Linked DNA regions of Homo sapiens: region 2 is linked to region 1. The links are contacts of gene promoters, found by promoter capture Hi-C in blood cells and fetal thymus (Javierre and others, 2016). All regions are on one chromosome and are shown on one strand. Each heading gives the region's core, a stretch centred on a gene start or on the middle of the fragment in contact. The rest is flanking DNA. Distances are from core to core; before and after follow the strand shown.

Region 1 (5,612 bases), core at 1,796-4,295:
AGGGTAGGGTAACAGGAAGCTGGAAAGATTAAATAATTTGAGGAAATATTTTAGTAAGTTCAGGTCCTGTCTTAGTTCTATCTTTTCTAGCAATATCAAAATATGAATAACCTGTGAAAGCCACTCATTTGTAAATGAACTAATACAAAATCAAGAACAGGCAACTGACCCAAAGCTAAGTGAAACTTTGCAAAGCCATGTTCTTGCCTCTCACTTCCGCAGGGTTAATGGTTAAGAACTTGGGCTACTGAGTCAAGCTATCTGGGTTGGAACCCTGGCTCTCTCATTTGTTACCAATTTAACTTTGGATGGTTTACTTAATCTTTCTGTGCCTCATCTGTAAATGGCCATAATAACAGGACCTAAGTCACAGATTGTTATGAGGAATAAATAAGACTTTACATGAGATAAAACATCTTAACACAGCACTAATCCCGGCACACAGTATAAGTCAAACAATTATCACTACTTTTAGCCCAGAAATCAGGATAACAGAGACGGGTATATATCTTCAATAAATAATGGTTATAAATGAACAATATAAGTCCAAACACTTTATAAATACTAAAGTGCTATATGAGTATAAGCTATTTTTATCCTATATAAAGTAAGTTTACAAGGTAGCTCTGTTCAGAGAACAATGTATTTAATGAAAGAAATCCCCGATTTATCCAGGCGCAGTGGCTAATGCCTGTAATCCCAGCAATTTGGGAGGGACGGCTTGAGCCCAGGAGTACAAGACCACTCTGGGAAACATAGGGAGGCCCCATATCTACAAAAATGTATAAAAATTAGCCAAGCAGTGTGGCACATGCCTGTGATCTCAGCTACTCAGCAGGCTGAGATTAGAGGATTGCTTGAGCCCATGAGGTTGAGGCTGCAGTGAGCTATGATGGCACCACGACACTCTAGCCTGGGTGACACAGCAAAACCCTATCTCAAAAAAAAGAAAGAAGAAAGGAAAGAAGAGAGAAAGAGAAAGGAAAGAAGGAAGGAAGGAAGGAATCCTGAATTCAACAAATTGAATCTTTACAATATGGCTTACTAAGTTATGTTGAAGTTTTTATAAAGCCTTTCCCCAAAAATCAAACCCACATTCATTCACCTAAAAAGTCCTAACATACACACCAAAACAAAATACAAGTTATTTATCAGTCAGCATCACTTTAGGGTCATCCATGGCTCTACAGGCAAAGAAGCATCGGATTTAACAGAATGGTCAACAAACTGCCTTGTGATAGTCTAGAGAATTCACATATAAAAATCTCAAACGTCTAAAAACAGACAAATTGTCTGTTTTCAGTAATATTTTATGCACCTTCTTCACTTTCCTTGATCAGATCTCCTAACAAAATTGCCTCTTATTGGGTTTTCTGTCTTTTTCCTTCCCCTTTCTCCACCCTGGTGCAGTCATTAACTGGTATTAAAGGGCCAAAAGAGAGGTAGTAGCAGTGAATAGGAGAAACAGACTAATCTAACAATTGGATAAGTAGCCCTAGAATAACGAAGAAGGCCTAATTAAAACTTCAAAAGCCTTATAACAGGTGATTCTAACCAGTCATAAAACTGTCACCTCCCTGGGTGGTAAAAAAAAAAAAAAAAAAAACACTTAAAAACTCATTTTATTATTTAAGTTAATTAAAGATACAAAGTATACGAAACAGCCATTACTATGCCTGACCCAAGATGTGTCACTAAAATAGTAACTATAGAAATGTTTAGAGGGGAGAATTTTTAGAATAATTTTCTGGAAAGACTACAAGACTGGGAGATTGTTAATAGTTCCTAATTCCTTGGAGTGTAGATTATTTTTATAATCCTTAAAGCATAAATAAGGAGAAGTGAATTAACAGTAGACTCTCAGAGCTGTGAAAGCCACGCACTTACTCTAGGATGAATGCTTCATTAATTTTTCACACAGTGTGATGATGTTGCAATTTTCCATGAGCAACTATCAGAGCTTTCCTTCTTGATAAGTATCAAAACAGCCGAAATTACATCGAATACTCGTGCCTGTCATTGGCCGAAATATAATTTCAATACTAGGATGTACCTAGTATTTCCAGACTCACACCCTGGCCTGGGTAACGTTACGATTACATTGTATCCACCCTGCCTAATGTCAGTATGTTTCACACAGTCACCCATTTCACCCTTCCTCTGGCTAAAGAGTTTTCCTCCTTCTGTAGACCTCTCCCCAGTGGATTTTACCTTAAATTCCACTCCCATTCCAACACCCAAGAGGCTAGATCTGTCTCCTCTACCCACACGCGGGGGCATGTCTAGATCCCCGTGATGCTGAAAAAGATGTCTCATTTGCACAGACATCAGAACCCGAGTGGGCGCGCGGCGGGCCCTGCGGTCGCCGGCGCTGATAGTCAGATGCTTTGTCTCCTGCCTGGGAAGGCCGGAGCTGCATGGACACGTATGACAGACATTCTAGAACTAATAAAAAAGAACACCACAGCCCCGCGCACAGGCAGCTCCTCCCGGACAGGCGATAGCCCAAGGCGGCCAGACCTGAGGTGACTGATCCCGCGAGGGGACGGAGGGGAGTGACGAGGGCTTTTCCCCCAGAGAAGTCAAGACGCCCCCCAGGGACCCGGCGCCGCGCAGCCGCCAGCCACCTGCAAACACAGACGGCGTGAGGGCGGCGCAGTCGCCCTGCCAGCACCCGGCCGCGCGTGCCAGGCCAGCGGGGACTCACTGCCTCAGTTTCCTCAGCCGCAGAACCCGGCCGGGACGCCCCTCAGGTCGCTCCACCCCGGTAGCCGGTGCTCCGCGCCACAGCCAGGTCCTTGCCGCGCCCTCAACCCGCCGCCCGCCGCCCGCCGCCGGCAGACTGTCCTCACCTGACAGCCACCCGCACGGAGCTCTCGTCCGGGGCGCCCAACATGCTGGCGGCGGGCAGCGATCGAGCCGTTGGGCCTCGGCACCGCAGAGCTGAGGCGCCACTGGGGCCGCGGGACTCGGGCGCAGTAGGCTGGGGCGTCTGCGGGCGGGCGGCCGGCTCACCTCCGCCGCGCTCCAGCCATGTTGGGCGACTGAATGGAAAGGTGGCGGCGGCGCTGAGGCAGCAAGAGGAGGAGGTGATTCACGGCTCGCGGGCGCCCGCCCCTTCTCCACCGCTCACCCCCCAGGATCTGGGGCGGGGACAAAGCGCGCTTGAACGGCGAGCGCGCCTGTGGAGAAGCCAACAGGCCGCCAGCGGCCTCAGGGCGGCCGGGTGAGTGCGCCCTGCCCCCTCCGGTGGGGACGCGGCCTCCCAGCGGCCAGGCTGGGGACTCCACGCCCGCCAGGGCGCTCCGGGCTCCTCGCCCCGCACTGCGTCAGCCGCCGCCGCGCGGCTCAGCCCCACCTCGCCCTCCCCCAGCCTGCGCCCCGCCCTGCCCTCGTCGGGACACTGCCTGGCGCTGCTGGGCAGGGAGGCGAGGGGGAGGGATGCCTGCCGCCGGCTGCCCTCGCCCGAGGGCGACCAGCCTGTGCGCCCTTCCAGGCTCTTCTGGGAGAAGGAAGCAGCTAGTGCACGCGCTGCTGCCAGGTCCCTTCTCAAATCGAAGCTTGATTCAGCGGCGCGCCGGGAGCCAGGCAGCTGCTGCTGCGGTTCGGCTTTGTGTCCCACGCATAGCCTTATTGTCCTCTCTGCAGCTTGGACTTTGACCCCCTTCCCTAGCCCCCAGCTGAACGCCCTCCCTCCTCCCTCCCCGGAGTCAGTCATTCATGCTAAACGGACTCCCAGGTTTGTCCACTGTCTCTGGACAGCTGGGCTGTTCTACAGTTCATCGCCCGTTTACCAGCTCGGGTGGGATATGGAAATGATTTATTCGAGACTCCTGAATGCTTTTCTGTTCAATCATTTGTACACTGGTAAATGAACTGCACCCTGGTACTGCCAAGTGTTCCCAGAACTGAATATATCCACCAAGACCTGCTGTGTAGTAAATCCTTCCAAACTGATTTTCTTTCCCTTCTGGCCTTTAAAAAGCACCTCCCAATCCCAGGATTCTCTCAACATTGACCCATTGTGGTTTCTGTTTGTCACTATTGTGCTTCCACATGCCTTCAGATAGCTCTGTGGAAACAGCCTTTATTAGCTTTGCCACAGAGTATCTTTTGTGGACTGCTCCATACATCTCTATAAACAAACATGTGGCTTCATACGAAATAGTATCACAAATTAAATGGCACTATCCAAATAAAGGCACTACCTCAAATGCCTGCAATCTACAATCACATACCTAATCATCTTGTTCAGCAGTGATACAGCAGTGTGGCTCAGAGAAGGCTGCAACACTATGGGAAAAACAAGAAGTGTTTGATGATTTAAACCCATGGGAAGGCCGATGGGGTATATAATTATAGATAGTTTTAAATTTATTCTGTCCCTTAATCTCACTACCCCTAAATCTTAACAGACATGTAACTGGGAGGTAAAGAGGGCAGAGATGCTGAGTATCCTTCTATAGATCAAATTGGTGGGAAAGCTCTCCTCTGGCTACTCTTTGGAGGGCCTTTCCTAGCCTCAAAATTTATCCATCAACAAATCAGAGCTGCATTTCACCCTGCCCTGGCAAGCCCATATCTGGGTGGATCTGGGCTGGCCACCTTGCTTCTTTTGTTGATGAAAGCTGCAAGGAAAGCAAGAATGGCCCAGCACATTTAACAAGAAAACTAAAGAGAAATTTGTATAATTAAGACCCTCTTTTTAAAAAAAGTTCTTTTTTATTTTATTTTATTTTGAGACAAAGTCTTGCTCTGTCACCAGGCTGGAGTGCAGTGGCGTGATCTCGGCTCACTGTAACCTCTGCCTCCCGGGTTCAAGCGATTCTTCTGCCTCAGCCTCCTGAGTAGCTGGGACTACAGGCGTGTGCCACCATGCCCAGCTAATTTTTGTATTTTTAGTAGAGACAGAGTTTCACCGTATTGGCCAGGCTGGTCTTGAACTCCTGACCTTGTGATCCACCCGCCTCGGCCTCCCAAAGTGCTGGGATTACAGGCATGAGCCACCACACCCAGCCTATTTTATTTTTTGAGACAGTGTCTCGCTCTGTCATCCAGGCTGGAATGCAATGGTGTGATCTCAGCTCACTGCGACATCGACATCCTCCTCCGGGGTTCAAGGGATTCTCGTGCCTCAGCCTCCGGAGTAGCTGGGATTTCAGGCATGTGCCAACACATCCAGGTAATTTTTGTATTTTTAGTAGAGATGGGATTTCACCATGTTTACCAGGCTGGTCTCAAACTCCTGACCTCAAGTGATCCGCCCACCTCAGCCTCCCAAAGTGCTGGGATTACAGGCATGAGCTACCTCACCTGGCCAAAAAAAGTTCTCATTTTAAATAACAATAGTATACATATATGTCTCAGTAAGGGGAGTCACAAACACAAATGCCTACAGGAGCCAGGCAGGTAGCTCAAAAGAGCAGAGCAAGATGAATACTATGATAAAGGTGAGGACTATCATAAAATAGAGACACAGGCCCCTTCCAAAGGTGGTGGCCATCCTCAGCTCTGGCTGAATATTGCCTTGATGAAATGCAAATCCAATGCTGCCAAGATTTTTATTTCTTGTATGTATGTTGCTTCTCAAGAAAAAGAGAAAAACAGATCTT
Region 2 (5,612 bases), core at 1,762-4,261, 200 kb after region 1:
CCATTCATTTCTCAGTCATCTTGCTAAAGTCAACAATGAACTTTATGCTGTTCAATTGAAAGGATATTTGTCAGTCCGATTTATTTTATTACGTTGTCATCTCCTACACAAAGCAAATTCTTTCTGATCTTTCTTTGGTACATTCTCCAGATTTTATTTCTATCTCTCTGGTTGTTCCTTTTTAATGACTGTTTTCAAGTTAAAATTTGATTACTTAGTTTCTGAAAGTTTTCTAGTTCTTTTCAAATTGTTTTCTAGTTGTTTTTACCAAGTGAGACTTGACAAAAAAATTGAGCTTAGTCTTGTCAAGTTAATCAGTTAGTTACATACTTCTGTTCTTTCTTGGAACAGATATTAGAGGCTATTATGATGGCTGGATAATATGGGACAAACTTCTTCAACATGTTTCCTGGAATAAAGGCTTAGTCCCTTTGACAGTCTTTGTATTGTTCTTCCTTATTCCTGGAACCTTATATTCCTACCCTCTTTGGATAGCTCTGACTCATCCATCTATCTTAGAACTCATTTCCAAAGAAGTCTTCCATGTCCTCCTCCCTTCCCTGTACCCACCCTATCCCCAAACAATAATTTCCATACCTTTCCTAGGATTTGATACCATCCCCAATCACACTCAGTTGCATTTATTTGTGTCATCATCTCCCTCACTATGGTCTTATCCATCACAAAGTACAGTGCCTTTGTACTTTGTACAGATGAACTAACAACTTCTTAATTCCAGGACACAATCAATTATAAGATCTAGCATTGACTGAGTTGTTGTTTCAAGGTGGAAAACTATTTACATCCTGAAGATCCTGTTATTTCATTGCTTAACCATAGTATGGTCTTTAAAAATACATTTTAGTCTAATTTGGAGTTCCAGATCACTCAAATGAAATATGAACAAATACCTTTTATCTGTTATTTATTTTGTAAAACAAGACATTTACTTTTTTGTGTGTGATCATTGGCAAGTCTGTTATAGTTCTTACAAGATTTTTACAAACTTAAAAGTTATAATTAACAATATTCTGAAATGTTAATGTGAAAGAGCCTCAACTTCTTGAAAATAAATATGATATGTAACCTCTTCAAATTATGACCTCTTGCACTAAATATTTTGCCATCTTGGCTTTTTCTCATTTCTGACAATTTCGCATTTATATTTACATTCATAGCATTATATTATGAGTTATTTAATGGAAGAGAAGATGTTTTCACAACCTAGCACATAATAGTTGCTTGATAAATAAATATTAGTTAATTTTTATTTAAATGAATTAATGATGTAACCTGAAAGAAAAAGAATGGCAATAAGAAAGAATAATAACAGTTCAAACAGAAAGAAAATAAAAACTGGATAAAGTGATAATTATGTGCAAGTCTTGTTAAAAAAACAAACATCTGGGAATCATGGAGGGATAACAAATAAACGAAATTGGCTTTGGTTGCAGATTAATTTGCACATAGCTTTTTTTTTCTTCATTTCTGTTGACTTTTAATGGCACTCAGCTGTGCATATTTTTAAGGTTTTCTATGTCTGCAGAATAGCATACTTTGTAGAAAAACAAGAACAAGATTTTAGCCTGTCAGAATTGTTCTGTTACCAGATTTTTTTAACTTTCTATATAGAGATAATTTCTAATCTTTTGATTTCAGAGAATAGCTTTATAGCATTCTGTTTTAAAGGTTATGCTTAAGGAAGATGATAAAAGGCTGTGAAATTTAGTCTTTAGGCAAACTGCAAGTTATGATTAATTGTAATGTATTTATAAACATATAAAGATGTCACAAAATATAAAAGTATCAAGTCAATGACTTAATAACATGATTGCTTTTTTATTATTTATAATTCTGTCTAAAACCGCATATTTGCTGCATTGTTTTTAATTTTTAATTATTTTAGGAATATTTTGAAAAACACAGGTTAAAATCAAAAATGAAATCACTGGGAGTTTTATCTCCTGTCAAAAATTCTGCTGTCAGCTTAGACATTCTTAACCTATATATGGTAAATCAGATATCTTGCAAGAAGAAAATTCCTGGTAAGTCATTCCAATTGCATTCTGTTTTGAACTTGATGTGATCATAATAATGTTTAGTCTTCTAATTAGTTTGTAATTTTTGAGCTCAAAGCATGTGGAAAATTAATTTTAAAATTTGGTTGCTCTCTTAAATTAGATGCCTAGTTAATATCTGCTTAAAACGTTTTGTTGCTTAATCCAATTTTTATTTTTATTTTGTGTATGTGTTATATAAAATTAATTTATTAGGTGTCACTAAACTTATTATAGTACAGTTGTTACATTATTCTATACAGGCAGGTAGTTACCAAAGTTTAGCTAGAGAGCAGGGAATAAATGTTAATACATATCAACAAATTAACTATTCTTTACTATTTAAAGGGTATGTCTGAAAGGAAGATCTGCAAAGATTTTTGCTTCAATGACTAGTTTCCTATGTCATCACTTGAATTATTTATTACACTTTCCTGGGATGTTAATCATAGAAGTCTAATACTGCAAAATAAAGTCCATTTTGTCATATATTTTGATACTTCAAGTAAATAAAAAGCTTAATTAGAGTATATTTTTCCTCTTTTAGAGGAACTTGTGTCTGATATTTAATTTTTAAAACAACTGCTAAAAATGAGAGCATAAAAATAAGACAATTTATCAGGAAGGGATAGAAATTGATCAGAGTATTGTTAATATTTCCTCATTTCCTTTCTCCGTCATTTTTTTTCTCCCTCCACAGATAACAGTTTACACAAGTAAATTTAGTTATACTTTAGAAAGAATAAATACATTGTTCATGGATTTTGAGAATAAAACTTATTGTTGTAAATCTTTTTGATGTATTTACCTTTATTCCCAGTCGTAGGGGAATAAAAATATATTTCCTCATCCATTGCTAGGTTTATGGCTAAACCCTCAATAACAAAAGACAGATTAACAGGAGAAAAACATACAGATTTATTTAGTAAGTTTTATGTGACACAAGAGCCTTGATAAGAAATTTAAGATCTTAAGATTGGAAGAAATGGCTAAACTTGTGTATTTTTCTTGCCAGGTTTGATGAAAAAGTGGATGGTCCTCAAGAAGTATGATTGGATTTTTAAAAGAATGATCTAATAGTAATAAACTAAGGGGATCTTAGCAAGGCCTCTTTGTTCAGATTCTTCTTTGTGACCCTGCGTCTTCAGAGATAGGGATATTATTTTCTTCCAAGTATAACCAGAGCACTTCTCGAATGAGGGTTTTATGACCTGCTTCAGGGGAAAGCTGAGAGTAACCTTCCTGCTTCTGCTGTTTTCTTAAATAGCAAGATGACTTATTTTGGGATAATGGCCTGAACTCCTGCACTTTCTTTTCATTTATTTCTTCAGCATATTTTTATTGGGTACCCACTGTAAGTACTCTACTGGGTGCTGAGGATAAAACAGAAAGCAAGCTTTACTAATCAGGACTCATGGCTGCAAATGACAGAAATTCAAAACAGTTATCTTTTTACTCCTTTAACAGGAAGAGTGATGGTGCAGTGGGCCTCAGAGATGACTTGAAACAGGGACTTGAATACTATCAAGATTCTTTTTCACTTCAGTCATTAACTTTATTCTCTCAGACTGTCTTCATCATTGAGGCTCAAAACATGGCCTTAAGAAACTAATATTACTCACCTTCTCTAGTTTTGCCACCAAGGAAATACTGAGAGTTGTTTCTCTGGTCCCACATTTTAAAATTCCACTGTAAGAATATTTCCTTGTGCTACTGGTACCAATCTCACAGTGAAAAAATTTTGCTTATAACTAGCAGAATGGGATACGATTATTGGTTCACCTTTAGTCAGATGGCTACTGCCAAATCAATTATTTTATCCAGAGAGACAAGACTTTTATTTTGTTTTGTTTTTAAAGACAGGGTTTCACTGTGTTGCCCAAGCTGGTCTTGAACTCTTGGCCTCAAGCCATCCTCCAACTGCAGCCTCCTTAGTAACTGGGATTACAGGCATGAGCCACTATGCCTGGCTTGAGGCAGAGTTTTATAAGAAGATATAAAATCTACACTATAACTATGTATATAGTTTGGGTGGGTGTATCACAAAAATAGAGTAGGTGAAAGTACTGACCAGAGAAAGGGAAAATATATATAGTACTGTGGGAATATATAACATAGTAACTAATCTAGTCTGGAGATCATAGAAATCTTGGTGGAAGAAAAAGTAGAACTAAATTAATAGGGCAGCTATAATGAGGAATATATAAGATGATGAATATGTTTTAAAGTCTCTGATAGTTGTTTATATTGTAATGATTTATTTTAGCACTGATAGAATGTAAATGTTTTAGTAAAATTTCTTAGATATATGTTTATGTAATGAACATGATTTATTAAACAGTACTTTTACAATTTTTTATTCTTATTTTAAAATTATAATTATATATTTTTTATTATAGAAACTGTGAGAAAACCAACCCATGTGAACATGAATAGAGACATAAAAATGCCCCTAAGAAAGCATAATTTAGAACTTACAATGTCGCCTCACTGTGTACCTTCTAAACTCTGCCTTGATGATACAGAAACCAAGTAGGTTTTAGCTAGGATTTATATTATTAGGTGTTTAAACTGGTTATTAACAACACTTTTACTCACTCGAAAATGTATAAAATACTTACCTTCTACCCCCAGTTTTTGTTTGTTTGGCTGTTAACAGTATTATGCAATGATTAAGACCTTCATCAAATGATCCAGATTTTGTACACTTTGTTTGACTTACCTTATCATAAAAATGTCTGTATCTAGTATTAATATAATTTTTATAAAACTTAGTAATATTATGACCCTGTAGTGATTTACTTAGGTTTCTATATGTTTTGTGTAGAACAGTATGAATTTTAAATATAGGAAAGGACAGTCGATTTTATTTCAATTTATATTTTTAACCTAAATTTTTCTTTTCATTAGTGTAAACTGTCAAAGACTAAGTAGCAAGGAAGATCTTGGCCCAGTCCAGGTGAGATTTTTAAAAAAATTCTATAGGTTATTTCAGCAATTGTGATATGCTACCTAATGATCTAAATGTCTGAATACTGGAGAAAATTATTTTAAAGAAAATTTTGAGTCTTTAATTCTTTTAAAAGCTTTCCAGGTGAGAAATCTATGCCTTAAGAATATTTTAATTGATTGCTTATGAGAATCTCTTTGGACTGCTGGTAATGTGACTAGGCCTATGTTTGCATAACATTTGATTCTGCTTGTTACTGATGAGCTGCCAAGGACAGTTCACTTAGGGATTCTTACTTTGGGTTCACGTGATTATTGAGCAATTCATCTGTTCAAACATAGTAACCAGATTACTTTATATCAAATTGTGATGTCCAACCCTCACGTGGATCCCAAGATGATTTCTCTTTCAAAGTATAGCAAATAATTTTCTTAGCAAATAAAATTTTAATCAATTAGAAAATGCATAGATTATAATTAAAGCTTGAAACTTTAACATCTAATGTCATATTGTTAGCTATCATTTTTTTCCTTTGAATTGCCAGAGTTAAGCTAGATCAGAAAGATAATGGCAATGATACTAAAATCCCTTAGAAATCTTATCAC

What was found. Contacts are between HindIII fragments. The CHiCAGO score rates a contact against its expected background, and 5 or more counts as called.
Region 2: a contact is called between a fragment that was not itself captured here and the fragment with the promoter of KIF21A in region 1, in 1 of 17 cell types (non-activated CD4 T cells). The highest score is 5.1, in non-activated CD4 T cells.

What each region holds. Positions count from the first base shown.
Region 1 is chr12:39,440,075-39,445,686 of GRCh38, forward strand. It overlaps KIF21A (kinesin family member 21A), which reads right to left and starts at 3,046. Exons shown (of 38, transcript NM_001173464.2): 1 at 2,853-3,046. The coding sequence starts at 2,896. RefSeq lists enhancers at 1,987-2,056, 2,875-3,375, 3,657-3,716 and a silencer at 2,677-3,576. The HindIII fragment of the contact is 8,179 bases long and covers 1-3,558 here.
Region 2 is chr12:39,641,873-39,647,484 of GRCh38, forward strand. REDIC1 (regulator of DNA class I crossover intermediates 1) reads left to right here. Exons shown (of 13, transcript NM_001031748.4): 3 at 1,907-2,045; 4 at 4,457-4,589; 5 at 4,968-5,016. Among named protein-coding and RNA genes, the nearest start is that of REDIC1, 18 kb to the left of the region's middle. The HindIII fragment of the contact is 879 bases long and covers 2,573-3,451 here.